Regions from separate parts of the Homo sapiens genome. Here regions 2, 3, 4 and 5 are each linked to region 1. Evidence: promoter capture Hi-C in human tissues and cell types (Jung and others, 2019). All regions are on one chromosome and are shown on one strand. The core of a region is centred on a gene start or on the middle of the fragment in contact, and the rest is flanking DNA. Distances in the headings are between cores, read along the strand shown.

Region 1 (3,017 bases), core at 350-2,849:
TGAGAATCGCTTGAACCCCGGAGGCAGAGGTTGCAGTGAGCCTAGATCGCACCACAGCACTCCAGCCTGGGTGACAGAGCAAGACTCTGTCTCCAAAAAAATTAAAAAATTAAAATGGTCCAGTTGAGTACAAAAAAGAAGATCAGGAAGAGTTTATTGGAGCAAGACGGAGATGAGCAACCTTGAAAACAAGTCTAATTAAGATGAGTAATTGTTAAAAGATGAGCAGTGCTTTCTAAGCAGAGGTAGCAGGAGGAAAGGGTCTCCGATCCTGTAACGCCTTTTATGCCAGGAAGAAAGGATGAATTGAAAGGATGAAATGGCAAATGTCGTAGTAGACTATTGGACTATTCCTGCAGCTCAGGAAAGTGGGCTGGAAATAAGAGGTTTGGCAAATACCCTGTTATGGTGGTATTTAAGGCAGAGGGAGGGTTTGGAACGAGCTCACAAAGGGAACTCTAGAATGAACAGAGTAGGCTTCTCAGGGAAGGCTTAAATCCTGGAGGTCTCTGGGGTAGGTAGGACAGAAAGTCCTGTTATTTTCCAGGTAGACAGACTGTTGGGCGCCGGGGAATTAATGCTGGTCACCTAGAGAGTTGTGCATTTTGTCTACCATTGTTAAATGAGGCAATGACCTGCCTCAAATACTTTTCACTCCACACACCTATTTGGAAGCCACGTATATTTTGCTTGCTCTTCCCATTTAAAATCGTAATCCACTCTATTCCACCCCCATGAGGAAGCTTTTGGGTAGAAAAGTGTGTAGAGGAATAAGTAAGTTGATGTGCATCAGATGTGCAAACTTTAGTGTGCATCAGAACCACCTGGAAGGCTTGTTAAAACAGGTTGCTGGGCACCACCCGGGGAGTTTGATTCAGTAGGTCTAAGGTGGAGTTCAATAATCTGCGTTACTAACACGTTTCCAGGTGATGCTGCTGTTCGGGGGACCACACCCAGAAGCTACCTTTTACCACTCTAAAAGGTAGCTGATTGGTTTTCTCTGTAATATAAATTCCTTAACGAGTTTAAAATATTGATCTGAGCCCTCGTAATTGCCTCAAATGTTTAATGCTAATGTGTGTTCAATGCTGTAGCCACGAGGGGAGCCTAAAATCACCTAACAACTCCTTTCGGGAGTGATTTTGATTAGTTCATCTACAGTTCCAACTAAGATTTCCCACAAATATTACTTTCACAGGAGGCTAACAAAAAACGCCGTCTTTGTCCCCAGAAAATACCTGGAGGACGGTATTTCAGAGGCGGGGAGGCTGCACCAGCCTCCCAGTCTCAGCCCTTCTCTACCGCCCGCCACTGAAGGGGCCCCGGATACCCCCAGGACTGCTGCAACTTCCTAGGTGACTTGAGGCAGCCTTAAAAGGGATTGGTGCAGGGTCCTTGCGACAGATAAATGTGATTAAAAATCCGCTGGGCCACCCGAAGGGAGAGTCTTTTTCCCTCAGGTGGCGCCTAGGGGCGGGACTGAGGGACAGCCCGCTCCCCGCAGCGCCCTCTCCGGCTCCGGGGGTGTTCCCGGCTGCAGCCGCGATCCTAACGGGCTCGCGAGACGCCCCGCCCACCCTGGGCCCGCCCCCGGCTCCATCTTGCGGGAGACCGGGTTGGGCTGTGACGCTGCTGCTGGGGTCAGGTGAGGAGCGGCGCCCCCCTCCCTTTCCCACCTCGTCTGCCTCGGTGGTCTTGCCCTCGGCCAGCTCTGGGCGCTGCTGTCCCGGTGCTAGTGGGGCGCGGCTGGAGGGCAGTGTGGGCCTCCCGGATGGCGGCGACTCGGTTTGCGCGTCTCGTAGCCGGGCTGCCGGCCGGGGTGTGTTGGGGTGGCGTGGGTGAGGCGGCCGGCCTGGCTTACGGGAAGCCCTTCCGTCCGTTTGGAAATCCCAGGGACCAGTGGCGCCCCGCCCTCGGGCAGGTGGAGGGGCTGAGGCCGGAGCGTGGCCCAGCTGCCTCGCGGGAGGCTGAGTAGGGAAACGCACGGGCAGTGCTGAAAGCCGTCTGGCTGGTAGTGGCTGTACTTTCCGGTGACACAGCGAATTTAGGGAAACTTGGGGAAATTTTTACTGTGTTTAGTGAACCGTAGGACAGAATGCGCCAGGCCAAGGTCGTACACTGGTTCTCGTTTACAGTTCTTGGAAGCTATTCTAGAATAGCATTCCAGATTTGATTGCTGTTCCCCGACCAGCAGCAAATCTGTGTTGAAATTAGCTCATCCTGTGCAAACACTGCGCAAGGAAACCAAGGTGCAGAGGTAGATGGCTGATGTCCACCGTAAAGTGACAGACATGACGCTGTTGTCTTCCGACTGCCGTAAACGCCCTGATTTTTGCCAGCTGATGGCCAGCTAATCTGCTAAATGTGTCCGAATTAGATGATGAGTGTAATGAGTTACCTTCCAGGCAAGGAAAGAGTTTCAAGCACTGAATAGGTAAAAGAGATAATTTTGGCCACTGCAAACTTTCAGTCCTTTTCAGTGAGGACTGTCTTTCAGTCCTCACTGGTGGTTGGCTACCTACCTGTCCGTGCAGAGGACTAGCCATGCCTCCATGTTCTTTCTCCACATCACTGACGGATTTAAATGATCCTACCATACCTAGAAGCCGGTTTTGCAAAATTGTATTCGCTGTTGCGCGTATCTTCAGTCACCCTTCCTGTTTCGTGTATTTTTTCCCCCATAAATTTGCAACAGCTGCCTCTTGGGTTCCTGGGCTTCATGCCATCAATGAGAAACGGTGAGACCCAGCCCTTTTACTAACTGACTCACTGGGTGGAGGTGGTTTGGAAAACCAAAAATGATTTTCTAGTCTTTTAAAAGTGATTGCTAACAGAGAATGTTTAAAAAAAAAAAAAAAAAAGCCCGAGCGCGGTGGCTCACTCCTGTAATCCTAGCACTTTGGGAGGCCGAGGCGAGAGATTCACGAGGTCAGGAGGAGTTTGAGACCAGCTTGACCAACACGGTGAAACCCCGTCTCTACTTAAAAATACAAAAATTAGCTGGGCGTGGTGGCGCG
Region 2 (3,383 bases), core at 852-3,351, 160 kb before region 1:
CTTTAGCAGACAGAAATTCCTGCCAAAAAGGCACAAATCCTTCTCCATTTTTTTTTCAGGCTAAATGTGAACAATAATGTCTTGGAAGAGAAATTATTTTTCAGGGGGTCGTGGTAGTGTACAAGGGATGTTTGCACCTCGAAGCTCAACCTCCATAGCCCCCAGCAAAGGCCTCAGCAATGAGCCAGGGCAAAACAGCTGCTTCCTCAACAGTGCCCTGCAGGTAAGGGTCATTTCTTTATTTTTGGTGAACTTTGACTTTTAATTGCTGATGCTGTATTTCTGATAACTCTTTTTAAATAAAATGTTTGATAGTCTCTGTTTGAGGTTAGTAACCTGAGATAATTTTTACATTTATCTGTGTGATCTTTGGCAAGTCACTTTATCTCTTTGAATCTCAATTACCTCATTTGTAAAAAAGAGGGATTAATAATGATAAGAGAAATAATAATAACTGTAACTACTATTATTTACATGCCTAAAGGGAGGTAAATGGACCAGGTGATCTTTCAGACAGAGTCTTGCTCTGTCGCCCAGGCTGGAGTGCAGTGGCGCAATCTCGGCTCACTGCAACCTCCGCCTCCCAGGTTCAAGTGATTCTCTTGCCTCAGCCTCCCGAGTAGCTGGGACTACAGGCGCCCACCACCATGCCCAGCTAATTTGTGTGTTTTTAGTAGAGACGGGGTTTCACCATATTGGCCAGGCTGGTCTCGAACTCCTGACCTTGTGATCCACCTGCCTTGGCCTCCCAAAGTGCTGGGATTACAGGCATGAACCACCGTGCCTGGCCTATCTTTCTATTTATCAACTTTTTTTCCTGAACAGTCTCTACAGGTTCCTATTTTTCTTTTCTTTTCTTTTCTTTCTTTTTTTTTTTTTTGGACAGTCTCACTCTATTGCCCAGGCTGGAGTATAGTGGCCCAATCACAGCTCCTGCAGCCTTGACCTCCAGGGCTCAGGTGATCCTACTGCCTCAGTCTCCTGAGTAGCTGGGACCATGAGCGATCTCGGCTCACTGCAACCTCTGCCTCTTGGGTTCAAGCAATTCTCATGCCTCAGCCACCCAAGTAGGTGGAATTATAGGTGTGCATCACCACACCCGGCTAATTTTTGTATTTTTAGTGGAGACAGGGTTTTACTATGTTGGGCAGGCTGGTCTTGAACTCCTAGCCTCAAGTGATCCGCCTGCCTCAGCCTCCCAAGGTGCTGGGATTACAGGTGTCTGGCCTGTTTTCTGTTTCTCCTTTCGGGAGTAAGGTGTGTTATCCTAGTTGCTTTTCTCTAGTATAGAAGCAAAATTCTTTCCACAAGTCAAAGACTTTCAGGTATGTTAATCTCGTCTCTTAATATTCAGGCTTTTGGCCCACATATTGAATGGAGTCTAGTCTTTGTCCAACTTATCTCCTCTCTTTGAGCTCTCCTGTTTTGGCTCATAACTGGTGTCTAGTCAGATACACTTGAACAGAGCTAGGGGAAAGTGAATTCCCTTAAGTTGATTATCTACCCTACATTTTCCCTTTCACTGTTGCTTGCCACTTGAGTGATCTTAGAATCCCAAAGCTTTCTGTCTGTCTGCTCTGCCCAGTCACGCCCATAGCATGTTAAGTTCATCCCCCTTGGCCTAACTTTCAAGTAATTACTTTCTCTTCTTTTCTGCTCTTCAGTGTAAAAGTAAATGAAATTTGCCACCCAAGATAATTATACTTGGGTAAAATATTAGCTTCACTCCTCAGATGTTATGAGAAAATGGGTTGCTATGAGAGAAGACAAGATATTTAGTATAAAGAACAATGGTCCTGGGCATTAGGAGGAGACCTGGGTTGTAGTTTTAGCCATTCTGTAGACTAGTCTTGTGACTTTGTACAGGTAATAGTGTCTGAGTTTCCTCATTCATAATACAAGAATGTTGCCAAGCTTATCTAGGTAATAAAAGTTTCATGCTCTTTCTCAGTTTTTATTTATTTATTTTTCAGACAGAGTCTCACTCTGTCGCCCAGGCTGGAGTGCAGTGGTGGGATCTCAGCTCACTGCCACCTCCGCCTCTTGGGTTCAAGCGATTCTCCTGCCTTAGCCTCCTGAGTAGCTGGGATTACAGGCTGTGCACCACCACGCTGGGCTAATTTTTGTACTTTTAGTAGAGACGGGGTTTCGCCATGTTGGCTGGGCTGGTCTTGAACCCCTCACCTCAGGTAATCTGCCCACCTCGGCCTCCCAAAGTGCTGGGCTTACAGGCGTGAGCCACTGTGCCCAGCCTCTTTCTCAGTTTTTAAGTTTTTATTCGAAAACAATAAAAAAAAATTATGTGCTGGCAAGCCTATAGAAAAAATTTAAGTGCTTTCCCTAATTATTACCCAAATTTCATGTAGTTAGGTGGAGTTGGTTAGGTTTTTGTCCTGGATGATGCATATTAGTTTTCTTTCTTTATTTCTTTCTCTTTTTTTTGGAGCCAGAGGTCTCACTCTGTTGCCAAGGCTAGAGTACACTGGTGTAATCATAGCTCACTGCAGCCTTAACGTCCTGGGCTCAAGCGGTCCTCCCACCTCAGCCTCCCTAGGTAGCTAGGACAACAGACACATGCTACCACACGCAGCTAATTTTTTTTTTTAATTGTTTGTGGAGAGAGGGTCTCACTATAATTGCTTAGGCTGGTCTTGAACTCCTGGGCTCAAATGATCATCCTGCGTTGTCCTCCCAAAGTGCTGGGATTATAGGCATAAGCCACCACACCTGGCCACATATTAGTTTTTTTAGTTACTTTGTATCCTGATAATACTTTTGTGATTTAGAAGCAGGCAAAATAAGGCATTGATATAAATGTGTTTGTTTACCCGTGTCTTGGCCATAGTCCCATTTTTGTAATTGTTTTTTTCTATGTGGTCTATTTATATTGTCAGTTGAAACAATACTATTTATGATTTCCCATTCTAATTTCCAGTGCCATATACAATACATAATATATATACACATACATATTTCTGTATCCATACTTAATGATTGAGGCATTGATGGTTTTGGAGTCCCTATAATAATCATGTTACATGTTGAAAATAATTGTTGTTATGAGCTAATATTCTAACTTTTGGTTTCAAAGCTGTGTTTACCACAGATGAGTTGAACCTATTACATTTGTTATAAAAAGGTGTTATTTACTTGGGAGCATAGCCAGTTTCAAAGAACTTTTAGAGTGTGTATCTTGAGACATATAAGTAAGAAGAAGCTCCGGAGGTGTGCTGTCATCTGGGGCTCCAGAAATTATGCTTTTTCATGTATTATGACATTAAATGTTTTCCTAGCAAGGGGGAGCTTCCTAAGGCATTATGCTATATACTACATCATTTCTTTTTTAACTAAAAATTGCAATTTATTCAGATTTCCTTAGTTTT
Region 3 (3,120 bases), core at 87-2,586, 180 kb before region 1:
CTTTTAAAAACCCTTGTTCTATAGACAGGGTGGTTAATGTTCATAATGACATAATGCTATTTGATATACTTTTTAGAATTATGCAAGATATAGTTAAATAAATGAATTTAAACAATAATGATGCTATAATTAGAAGCCCAAATGTGTGGCCCCTATCTCCCTCTCTTCTTTAGAGTCCATTTATATGAGAAATATAGAGATTTCTTGTATGATTTTGCTGCTCAGGTCTGTGATTAACAGCCAAAGTTTCTCCAAAATGTATTCTTTGGATCAGTTTTTTTCTCTTCCCTCTACCCTTTCTGCAATATTCCTCTTCTCAGTAATGCATACTTGAGTGAAACAACCAGCTCTTTAAGGTACACATGCTCTGCCAACATTGTGAATAAATCTCAGAATAAAAACTAGAGTCACCTCTGATTGCACAGGGATTGCACCTGTGACTAGCCACTGCACTCCAGCCTGGGCAACATAGTGAGACTCTGTCTTTAAAAGAAAACACCAGTGGGGCTTGGTGGCTCACGCCTGTAATCCCAGCACTTTGGGAGGCTGAGGTGGGTGGATCACCTGAGGTCAGGAGTTTGAGACCAGCCTCGCCAACATGGTGAAACTCCATCTCTACTCAAAATACAAAAATTAGCCAGGTGTGGTGGTGTGCACCTGTAATCCCAGCTACTCTGGAGGCTGAGGTAGGAGAATCACTTGAACCCGGGAGGCAGAGATTGCAGTGAGCTGAGATTATGGCACTATACTCCAGCCTGGGTGACAGAGTGAGACTCTGTCTTCAAACAAAACCAAGATTAAAAAAAAAAAGTTAAAAAAAAACCCACTAGACTCAAATTAGTTATGTAGTTTTCCCTGTTTTTCATCTACTTCATGGTATATTCTTCCTTACAACCTAGAGTCAAAGGCTAGAATATTTTCTCTTAGGTTCCTTATTAGCTAAGATCAAGTCCGTCTCTAATTTTTGTTTGCTAGAACTCCAGTTTAACAGCTCTGAATTAAGCTTCCCCTCTCCCCAGGATCAAATGATAAAGGCTTTCATTTGATATAAAGCAGTCTCTTCCCCACCCCTCCCCACCCCAATCCTCCAGTTTATTTAAAAGTCTCAGCCTAGGTAACATACTAAGACCCTGTCTCCAAAAATCTTTAAAAAATTAGCTGGGTCTGGTTGTACACACCTGTAGTCCCAGCTACTCGGGAGGCTGAGGGTAGAAGATTGCATGAACCCAGGAATTTGAGGGTTCAGTGAGCTGTGATCACACCACTGCATCCAGCCTGGGCAACAGAGGAAGAACCTGTCTCTTAAAAAGTTCCCAAATTTTGTCACTACATTCTAAAATCTAGAGTCTTTTATTGGCTGGGCACAGTGGCTCACACCTGTAATCCCAGCACTTTGAGAGGCTGAGTCAGGTGGATCACTTGAGGTCAGGAGTTCGAGACCAGTCTGGCCAACATGGTGAAGCCCCATCTCTACTAAAAATACAAAAACTAGCTGGGTGTAGTGGCACCTACCTGTAATCCCAGCTACTGAAGAGGCTGAAGCAGGAGAATCACTTGAACCTGGGAAGTGGAGGTTGCAGTGAACCGAGATCGTGTCACTGCACTCCAGCCTGGGTGACAGAGCAAGACTTGGACTCAAAAAAAAAAAGAGTCTTTTATTTTCCAATCTCGTGTTCCTACTGCGGAGCCACTCAGTTCCTGCCTTTACTGCCGACATCAGCATTATCATTAGCATCTCAGAAATAAAAGACAATGATGGTTTGACTTTGGGGTTACTCCAGAGGGAGTTATTTTGGTTTTTCTTAGAGAAATCCTCTGTTTCTCTTTTATGACTTTTAAGAGAAGCAAAATGTTCTTTCAATGCATTGAACATTCTGTTGTACCTTACTCTATTTGCTAGTAGAAACCAATAATGAAAAGCTACGGAATGTGACCAAATAGGACTTTTCAGCCTGTGCTTTTCCATTACCCTCCCCACTACCCTCCAAGGATTTTTCTTGATTGATTTACTCAAATCCTAAATATTGTTTCTCCTTGCTAATAATATTTATATTTTTTCAGAGACCTTTGTCTATTCTGGTCTAAGGTGGACCTATTGTGGTGTTACATATTCCCTGCAAAGTACTTGAAAAATATGACTTGTTAAGTTTTGTTGAAGCACAGTTTTACAAAGTACTGTTGTAACTAGTCATCCAACTTTAGAATACCTGAACATTTAAACTAAAACCCTATTTTAAAAAATAATAATCTGAAACACTATGTATCACTCTCCCTCTTGACGTAGTTAGCAATCATGTACCCAAAACCTTTTCTTTCTATTTTTATTTTTCCTTTTTTTTTTTTTTTTTTGAGACAGGGTCTTGCTCTGTGGCCCAGACTGGAGTGCAGCGACACAATCACTGCTCACTGGGGCCTTGACCTCCTGGGCTCAAGGGATCCTCCCACCTCAGCCTGGAGTAACTGGGACCAGAGAGGTGCGTGCCACCACACCAGGCTAATTAAAAACTTTCTTTCTTTCTTTTTTTTTTTTGTAGAGAAGGGGCCTCCCTGTGTTGCCCAGGCTGGTCTTGAACTCCTGGGCTCAAATGATCCTCCCGCAATGGCCTCCCAAAATGCTGGGATTACAGGCGTGAGCCCCTGCACCCGGCCTATAAAACCTTTTCTACAGGCAGTTTGACACTCACCTAACAAAAACTTGTAGTTACCCAATTTATTTTGAATGGCGAAGCCCAGTGGTTGATACAGGGTTCTCTTTCTATTTGGCACAGAACCTCTTGTGCAGTCTTGAAGAGGGAATAAGAAATGTCTGAAAATAACTTATGCAAGGCAGAATGTGAGTATCATAGCAGAGTTTTATGGGAGGTGTTTTCTGAGGGGCCTCTGGAGAGATTACAATCTATTAGAGTGAGATTTCCCTGTGGATCACTTCCCTTACCTGGATGAGACATGAAAAGTAATGTTGTCTAGTTGTAATCAGGGTTGAAGCTCTGTAACTCTGTCCCAGTACTCTAGTTTTATTTGATTAGTTTCACAATGAATATATACCTATATTTTAATGACTTGATTGAAGAGCTTGGTCTTGATGTTTGTATGTCTTTATTTGCAGTCAGCACTTATCAG
Region 4 (2,914 bases), core at 80-2,579, 210 kb before region 1:
TTGCTATGTTGCCAGGCTGGTCTCAAACTCCTGGGCTCAAGTGATACTCCTGCCTCAGCCTCCCAAAGTAAGAATTTTCTTTTCTCTTTTTTTGAGACAGGGTTTTGCTCTGTTGCCCAGGCTGGAATGCAGTGGTGTCATCACAGCTCACTGCCACCTCAACCTCCTGGGCCCAAGCTTTCCTCCCACCTCAGCCTCCTGAGTAGATAGGACCACAGGTGCATGCAACCACGCGCAGTTAATTATTAAAATTTTTTTTGTAGAGACGAGGTCTTGCTATGTTGCCTAAGCTGGTCTGGCTATGTTACCCAGCAATCCTCCTGCCTTGGCAGCTTGGCTTCCCAAAGCGCTGGGATTACAGGCTTGAGCCACCATGCCCAGCCTAAGAGTTTTCAAAATTACAAAGTGTTAACCAAACTAAACTGTGCTGCCTTAGTGAAACACATAGTAAGTTTCTCAGAAGAGATAAAAGAATGGAAGTTTGAGGAGAAAATTCACTGGTCAGTTCATAATTTAAGCCCTTTTTTTTTTTTTTCTTTAAAGACGAGTTGTCTGTTGCCCAGGCTGGAGTGCAGTGGAGTAATCACGGCTCACTGCAGCCTCAGTCTCCTGGGTTTAAGGAATCCTCTTGCTTTTCAGCCTCTCCAGGAGCTGGGACTACAGGTGCTTGGCTAATTTTTGTACTTTTTCTAGAGACAGGATCTCCCTATGTTGCCCATGCTGATCTCAAGCACCTGGGCTCAAGTGATCCTCCCACCTCAGCCTCCCAAAATGCTGGGATTATAGGCGTGAGCCACCTCGCTGGTCCTATTAGTCTTTTTTAGTACTCCTTTACTGTAGATGTAAATAAATACGGACCAGGCACGGTAGCTCAGGCCTGTCATCACAGCACTTTGGGAGGCTGAGGTGGGCGGATCAGTTGAGGTCAGGAGTTTGAGATCAGCCTGGCCAACATGGTGAAACCCCATCTCTACTAAAAATACAAAAATTAGCTGGGCATGGTGATGCCTGCCAGTAATTCCAGCCACTCGGGAGGCTGAGGCAGGAGAATCGCTTGAACCCAGGAAGCGGAGGTTACAGTGAACCGAAATCATGCCACTATACTCCAACCTAGGCAACAGGCAAGATTCTGTCTCAAAATAAATAAATAAATAAATAAATAAATAAATAAATAAATATTACAACAGTCTTAAGGCAATAATAATAATAGATAACATTCATTGAGTGATTATTAATGTGCCAGGCACATTATCTCATTTTATCTTATAACAACACTCTGCTCTGCAGCTGGTACTAGTTACTTTAAAGAAAACCAAGGCTTAAAAAGTTCAGGAAGTTACCAAAGATTATTGAGCTAGTAGATGGTAGAATAGAGATTGGTGTGGGAAATTTATGTGATTCTAATATACTAAGAAAGATTTCTTTCTTTTGTAGGGAAGGAGGGAGTCTTGGTATGGAGGAAGTGGGGAGAGGTTGCAGGTGGAACTGGCCAGGACACCAGAATTCTGGGTGGGACTTGGAAGGTATAAATGGATAGGGGTATCTGTTTTTTTACTCATACATTTTCTCCCTCAGATATTTACACTACCTATGGGGAACTAATGTGAATGTTAGCATGGTGCTAAATACAAAATTTGTATTGTTATATAGAGAATTGAGTAAATTACCAAATTTCTGCTGTGTATAATTGTATAGGGAGCTATGCTTGGGAAAATAGTTGTAGCAAGCAATTATATATTTGTAAGCTTCCAGCAAGTGATCATTTTAGTAGTGGAAATGGTTATCTGTATTCATATATAGGGGAAATGTTATTACAACAGACTTTAAGGCATTTAGTCAAACATATTTTCATACAGTAGTTTTTTTTTTTTTTTTTTTTGAGACGGAGTGTCCCTGTGTCGCCCAGGCTGGAGTACAGTGGCGCAATCTTGGCTCACTGCAAGCTCCGCCTCCTGGGTTCATGCCATTCTTCTGCCTCAGCCTCCTGAGTAGCTGGGATTACAGGTGCCCGCCACCATGCCCGGCTATTTTTTGTATTTTTAGTAGAGACAGGGTTTCATTATATTAGCCAGGATGGTCTTGATCTCCTGACCTTGTGATCTTCCCGTCTCGGCCTCCCAACGTGCTGGGATTACAGGCGTGAGCCACTGTGCCCCGCCTTCATACTGTAGTTTTTTTATATTGAGAAAAATGTATGTATGTGTCACATGTTTTTATATATTTGCTTTCAGGTTTTTTTTTTCACTCTATATTCCAAAGTCCAAAGTACGGTTTTCTGGTTGAAATTCAAATTTTACATCTTTGTATTATTTGTTTGTTTTTTGAGACAGAGTCTTGCTCTGTCACCCAGGCCGGAGTGCAGTGGCACAATCTTGGCTCATTGCAACCTCTGCTTACCAGGTTCAAGCGATTCTCCTGCCTCAGCCTCCTGAGTAGCTGGGATTACAGGCACGTGCCACCGAGCTCAGCTAATTTTTGTATTTTTAGTAGAGACGGGGTTTCGCCATGTTGGCCAGGGTGGTCTCCAACTCCTGACCTTGGGCGATCCACCCGCCTCAGCCTCCCAAAGTGCTGGGATTACAGTGGTGAGCCACCGCATCCGACCTGTTTGTTTGAGACAGAGTTTTGCTCTTGGCCTCAGCCTCCGGAGTAGCTGGGATTACAGGTGCCCGCCACCACACCCAGATAATTTTTTGTATTTTTGGTAGAGACAGGGTTTCACCATGTTGGGCAGGCTGGTCTTGAAGTCCTGACCTCAGATGATTGACCCGCTTTGGCCTCCCAAAGTGCTGGGATTACAGGCGTGAGCCACCACTCCCGGCCCCCAAATTTTATATCTTTGTAAATGGCTTCTTTAAAAATCTACGTGAGATTATGTCTGTAATCCCAGCACTTTGGGAGGCTAAGGCAGGAG
Region 5 (3,284 bases), core at 613-3,112, 180 kb after region 1:
AAAGTTATGCTTATCTGATGTGTACTGGGATTTAATATTCTTGCTTGTGGTCAGACATATCTTAAGTGTTAAATTGCTTAGAATATTTGTGATTTCTGTATAAGGCATTAAAGAATAGGCATCAGGGACTAGTTAGAATTTGAACAAAATGTATTTATAACACTTTTTATTGTTGGAAACTCAACTTTTATTCTGGGTTAAGCCTCTAGATAAAATCTTAAGTCTGCCAAACTATTATTCCCCCCACCTTTTCTTTCCCCAACTATCAAGACCATTCTAGGAAGTACGTCACTCTACCAAAAATGATTGAGTTGTGTTGGGCCTGGGGAAAAAGTCGGGCAAAAGGAGCCTTTCTTGTGGCTGCTGATAGTTAGGTTCATCCACCACCGCACTTTGAGCTCGACTAGAGTCGCCATGGGGTTTCTGCAGAGGAGACAAAAGTTACAGAAACAGTGAAAACTATCTGTAATGTGGTATGTAGTTAAAACCCTATCGACCATGGCAGATATGGTAAGTGCAGGCCAAACAGCTCCAATTCCACGTCATAAATTAGCACTGTGTTTGTACTTTTGACAAAACACAGTATAAATCAAGATCAGGGCACAGATCCTGCAGAATTACTGCCCATTAGGTTGTATGGTAAGTACATGGAGAGGCAATATGAAAGAAACATACCATCTGTCTTTGTGGCCCCACAGTGCTCACATGTTCCACTTCAGCTGTGCCAATAGGTGGTAGCAGATTATTTCGACTCAGGGGCGTCGGTGAGGGAGAGGAGAGCGAGTCGGGTGCCACTGGGCTGCAGATCCCACCAACAAACACGAAGGTATGAAAGCATGAAGTTATAACAATACCAGCAAATTGATTAGAAATCAGATAAATGAAGCAGATGAGTTTAATGTGCACAGAAAGCTTTAGGCTACCTATGTTTTCAAGTAGAGATCTCAGGATTTTTGGAAAATTAGTTTTTAAAATAGTGTTTTCTGATTTTGTTTTGAAGCTCTATACTCTGGGTACACAACAGAAGCTGGCCTTTTCTCTCCCACAGAACTGGAATAAAACATTTGTCCCTATCTGGTATTGCACTTCTCTGCTGATTTGGATTTGTAAATTCCCAGCTGATGATGGAATTCTTGACAGTTCTGGACCTTCTGGTTATCGTTTTCCCTAATAACTATAGTTCTCGGGTAAAGTTCCTAAACCTTCATTCCCTTCAGTAGGATCTGGAGCAGCTTGCAGTATTCCTTATCCTTAAGACAGTAATTGAAACTGAATGATACTTTCATGTCCCAGAAGTAACAAAGCAACTTACTTTTCAACTTTGAAAAAAAGTACTGTCAGAAGGAATGAGAGATTAATTATACATCAAGACTACTCATCCCCAAATGAATGCATTTATAGCTCTGTTGGTATAGATATAGCTACATCCACATAATAATGCTTAACTTGGAAGCCGCATTGAAAACACTGCTGTGGCCTTATTATCTCATACCTTTGAGGATATTTTTAGAAATTAATCATCCTAAGACATTTTGTGAATCAACAGCTAAAAGAATTCTATGTTTAAAATTGGCTCCTAGGTATTTTTGCATGATGAGGCTCAGAGTGTGTAGTGAATGAAGGGTGGGAAAGGCGATTACTTTTAGTGTCACTTCCTAGGAAGTGCTAAGGGATATTTTTGCTGGTATGTAAGCAACTACTTATCTGAGGTTTATGAAGTTTTCATTGTCAATGGAATAAGCAGATCCCAATGGTACAGAAGAACCTTAAAGGGGAATTAACTATTATTTTGGAGTGAATTTCACTGAATATGTTCCCAGCACGGAAAATGTTTGATTAAATAAATAGGTTCTTTATTCCTTTTGTAACCCCAATATAGTATTCTAGCCAACATTTTATTTTTACAAATAGAACTCTTTAGCTAGATCAACAGAAAGATTCAATATCTATTTCATTAAAATTATTTAACCCCTGCTGGGTGCGGTGGTTCACACCTGTAATCTCAGCACTTTAGGAGACTGAGGCAGGCAGATTGCTTGAGCTCAGGAATTTGAAACCAGCCTGGGCAACATGACAAGACCCCTGTCTCTACTAAAAACACAAAAAGTTAACCTGGCATGGTGGCACCACCCGCCTGTGGTCCCGGCTACTTGAGAGGCTGGGGTGGGAGAACCACTTGAGCCCAGAAGTTGAGGCTGCAGTGAGCCATGATCATCCACTGCACTCCAGCCTGGGCGACAGGAGTGAGACTGTATCTAAAAAAATAAAATAAAATAAAATTTAACCACATTAAAAAATTTTGTGTTGGATCTAAACCCATGGGCAATCTGTCATAAGACTACTTAATGATTAGTTTCTAGGCATAGATTTCAGTCTTATATTTAAATTAATTCTGTATGTAAAATGTGTTAGTTTTACCACGGTTTCCAGAAGTTCTGCTTTTGAAACCTACACTCGGGCTCCTCTGAGGATTTCTTCCACAGATCTTGGTGTTTCAGCACATGAATGGCTCGTGCTGATCGGATGAAGAGTTCGTGGTGGTGGATTGCGTCTCCTGGTGGACTGCACTGTGTATGACAGAGATGATGTACTAAACTCCACAGCTCGATTTGGCCAATTTCGAGTTGAAAGGATGGTACTGGACCCAGGCCTCATAAGTAGCTTGTCATCAAGATCTCTAGTAGCCAAATCAGAAACCCACAATGAAGTAAAGATCAGTATGTCAAGGAAGACAAGACTAACGGGGTAAAAAGCCTTAGACTAGAAACTACATTTAGGGGGAAATAAAGCAAAAATAAAAACCTTTCAATAAGTAACACTAGTTTCCAGATGGTACTCTAGCTCAGGCATGAGAATCTGTTCTTAAAAGTGGGACATTATTTCAATCATAAACATAATTTACTAGAATGGACATTTGGCAAAGCAAGTCCATTATCCACCTGCCATCACAGTCACTTTTTTAGTCACCAGTGAAGGCAAGCCTGAAGGACACCTACTCCAAAGTGCTTCCCAAAAATTTGCCACAGGGGCTGATTCCTACTCTGTTTGAGGCATTCTTTTGTGCTGAAAGATTGTCACCAGAAAGACAACTGAAAGACAAATATTGCTGCTTGGGAGCAGTTGTGGCACCAGTGTGGCTCCCACTGTAGCAATTAAAGTGCTGAGCAAGTTGGAGCTGGCAGGGATTTGGGTTTGGGTTCTTTGGAAAGCTGGGAGTGGGCAAAGGGTCTTGTGCTGCCCAGAGCCAGAGCTGTTGGGACCACAGTAGCCCTATTTGCATAAAT

What was found. Contacts are between HindIII fragments. The study calls those that stand out against the background at their distance.
Region 2: a fragment that was not itself captured here is called in contact with the fragment with the promoter of ANXA7 in region 1 in 2 of the 25 tissues and cell types used here (hippocampus and mesendoderm cells).
Region 3: a fragment that was not itself captured here is called in contact with the fragment with the promoter of ANXA7 in region 1 in 1 of the 25 tissues and cell types used here (dorsolateral prefrontal cortex).
Region 4: a contact is called between a fragment that was not itself captured here and the fragment with the promoter of ANXA7 in region 1, in 2 of the 25 tissues and cell types used here (IMR-90 fibroblasts and dorsolateral prefrontal cortex).
Region 5: a fragment that was not itself captured here is called in contact with the fragment with the promoter of ANXA7 in region 1 in 1 of the 25 tissues and cell types used here (hippocampus).

Annotation. Positions count from the first base shown.
Region 1 is chr10:73,412,640-73,415,656 of GRCh38, reverse strand. ANXA7 (annexin A7) reads left to right here and starts at 1,599. Exons shown (of 13, transcript NM_001156.5): 1 at 1,599-1,645. RefSeq lists a silencer at 1,416-1,975 and enhancers at 2,376-2,455, 2,466-2,585. The HindIII fragment of the contact is 7,160 bases long and covers 1-3,017 here.
Region 2 is chr10:73,572,352-73,575,734 of GRCh38, reverse strand. USP54 (ubiquitin specific peptidase 54) reads left to right here. Exons shown (of 24, transcript NM_001391956.1): 3 at 60-223. The coding sequence starts at 77. Among named protein-coding and RNA genes, the nearest start is that of USP54, 17 kb to the left of the region's middle. The HindIII fragment of the contact is 3,296 bases long and covers 454-3,383 here.
Region 3 is chr10:73,592,606-73,595,725 of GRCh38, reverse strand. It overlaps a transcript of USP54 not described here. Among named protein-coding and RNA genes, the nearest start is that of USP54, 2.8 kb to the right of the region's middle. The HindIII fragment of the contact is 7,322 bases long and covers 1-3,120 here.
Region 4 is chr10:73,620,565-73,623,478 of GRCh38, reverse strand. It overlaps a transcript of USP54 not described here. Among named protein-coding and RNA genes, the nearest start is that of MYOZ1, 19 kb to the left of the region's middle. The HindIII fragment of the contact is 4,845 bases long and covers 1-2,914 here.
Region 5 is chr10:73,232,332-73,235,615 of GRCh38, reverse strand. It overlaps FAM149B1 (family with sequence similarity 149 member B1), which reads right to left. Exons shown (of 14, transcript NM_173348.2): 10 at 2,453-2,677; 11 at 676-799; 12 at 298-423. It also overlaps a transcript of DNAJC9 not described here. Among named protein-coding and RNA genes, the nearest start is that of DNAJC9, 13 kb to the left of the region's middle. The HindIII fragment of the contact is 5,885 bases long and covers 1-3,284 here.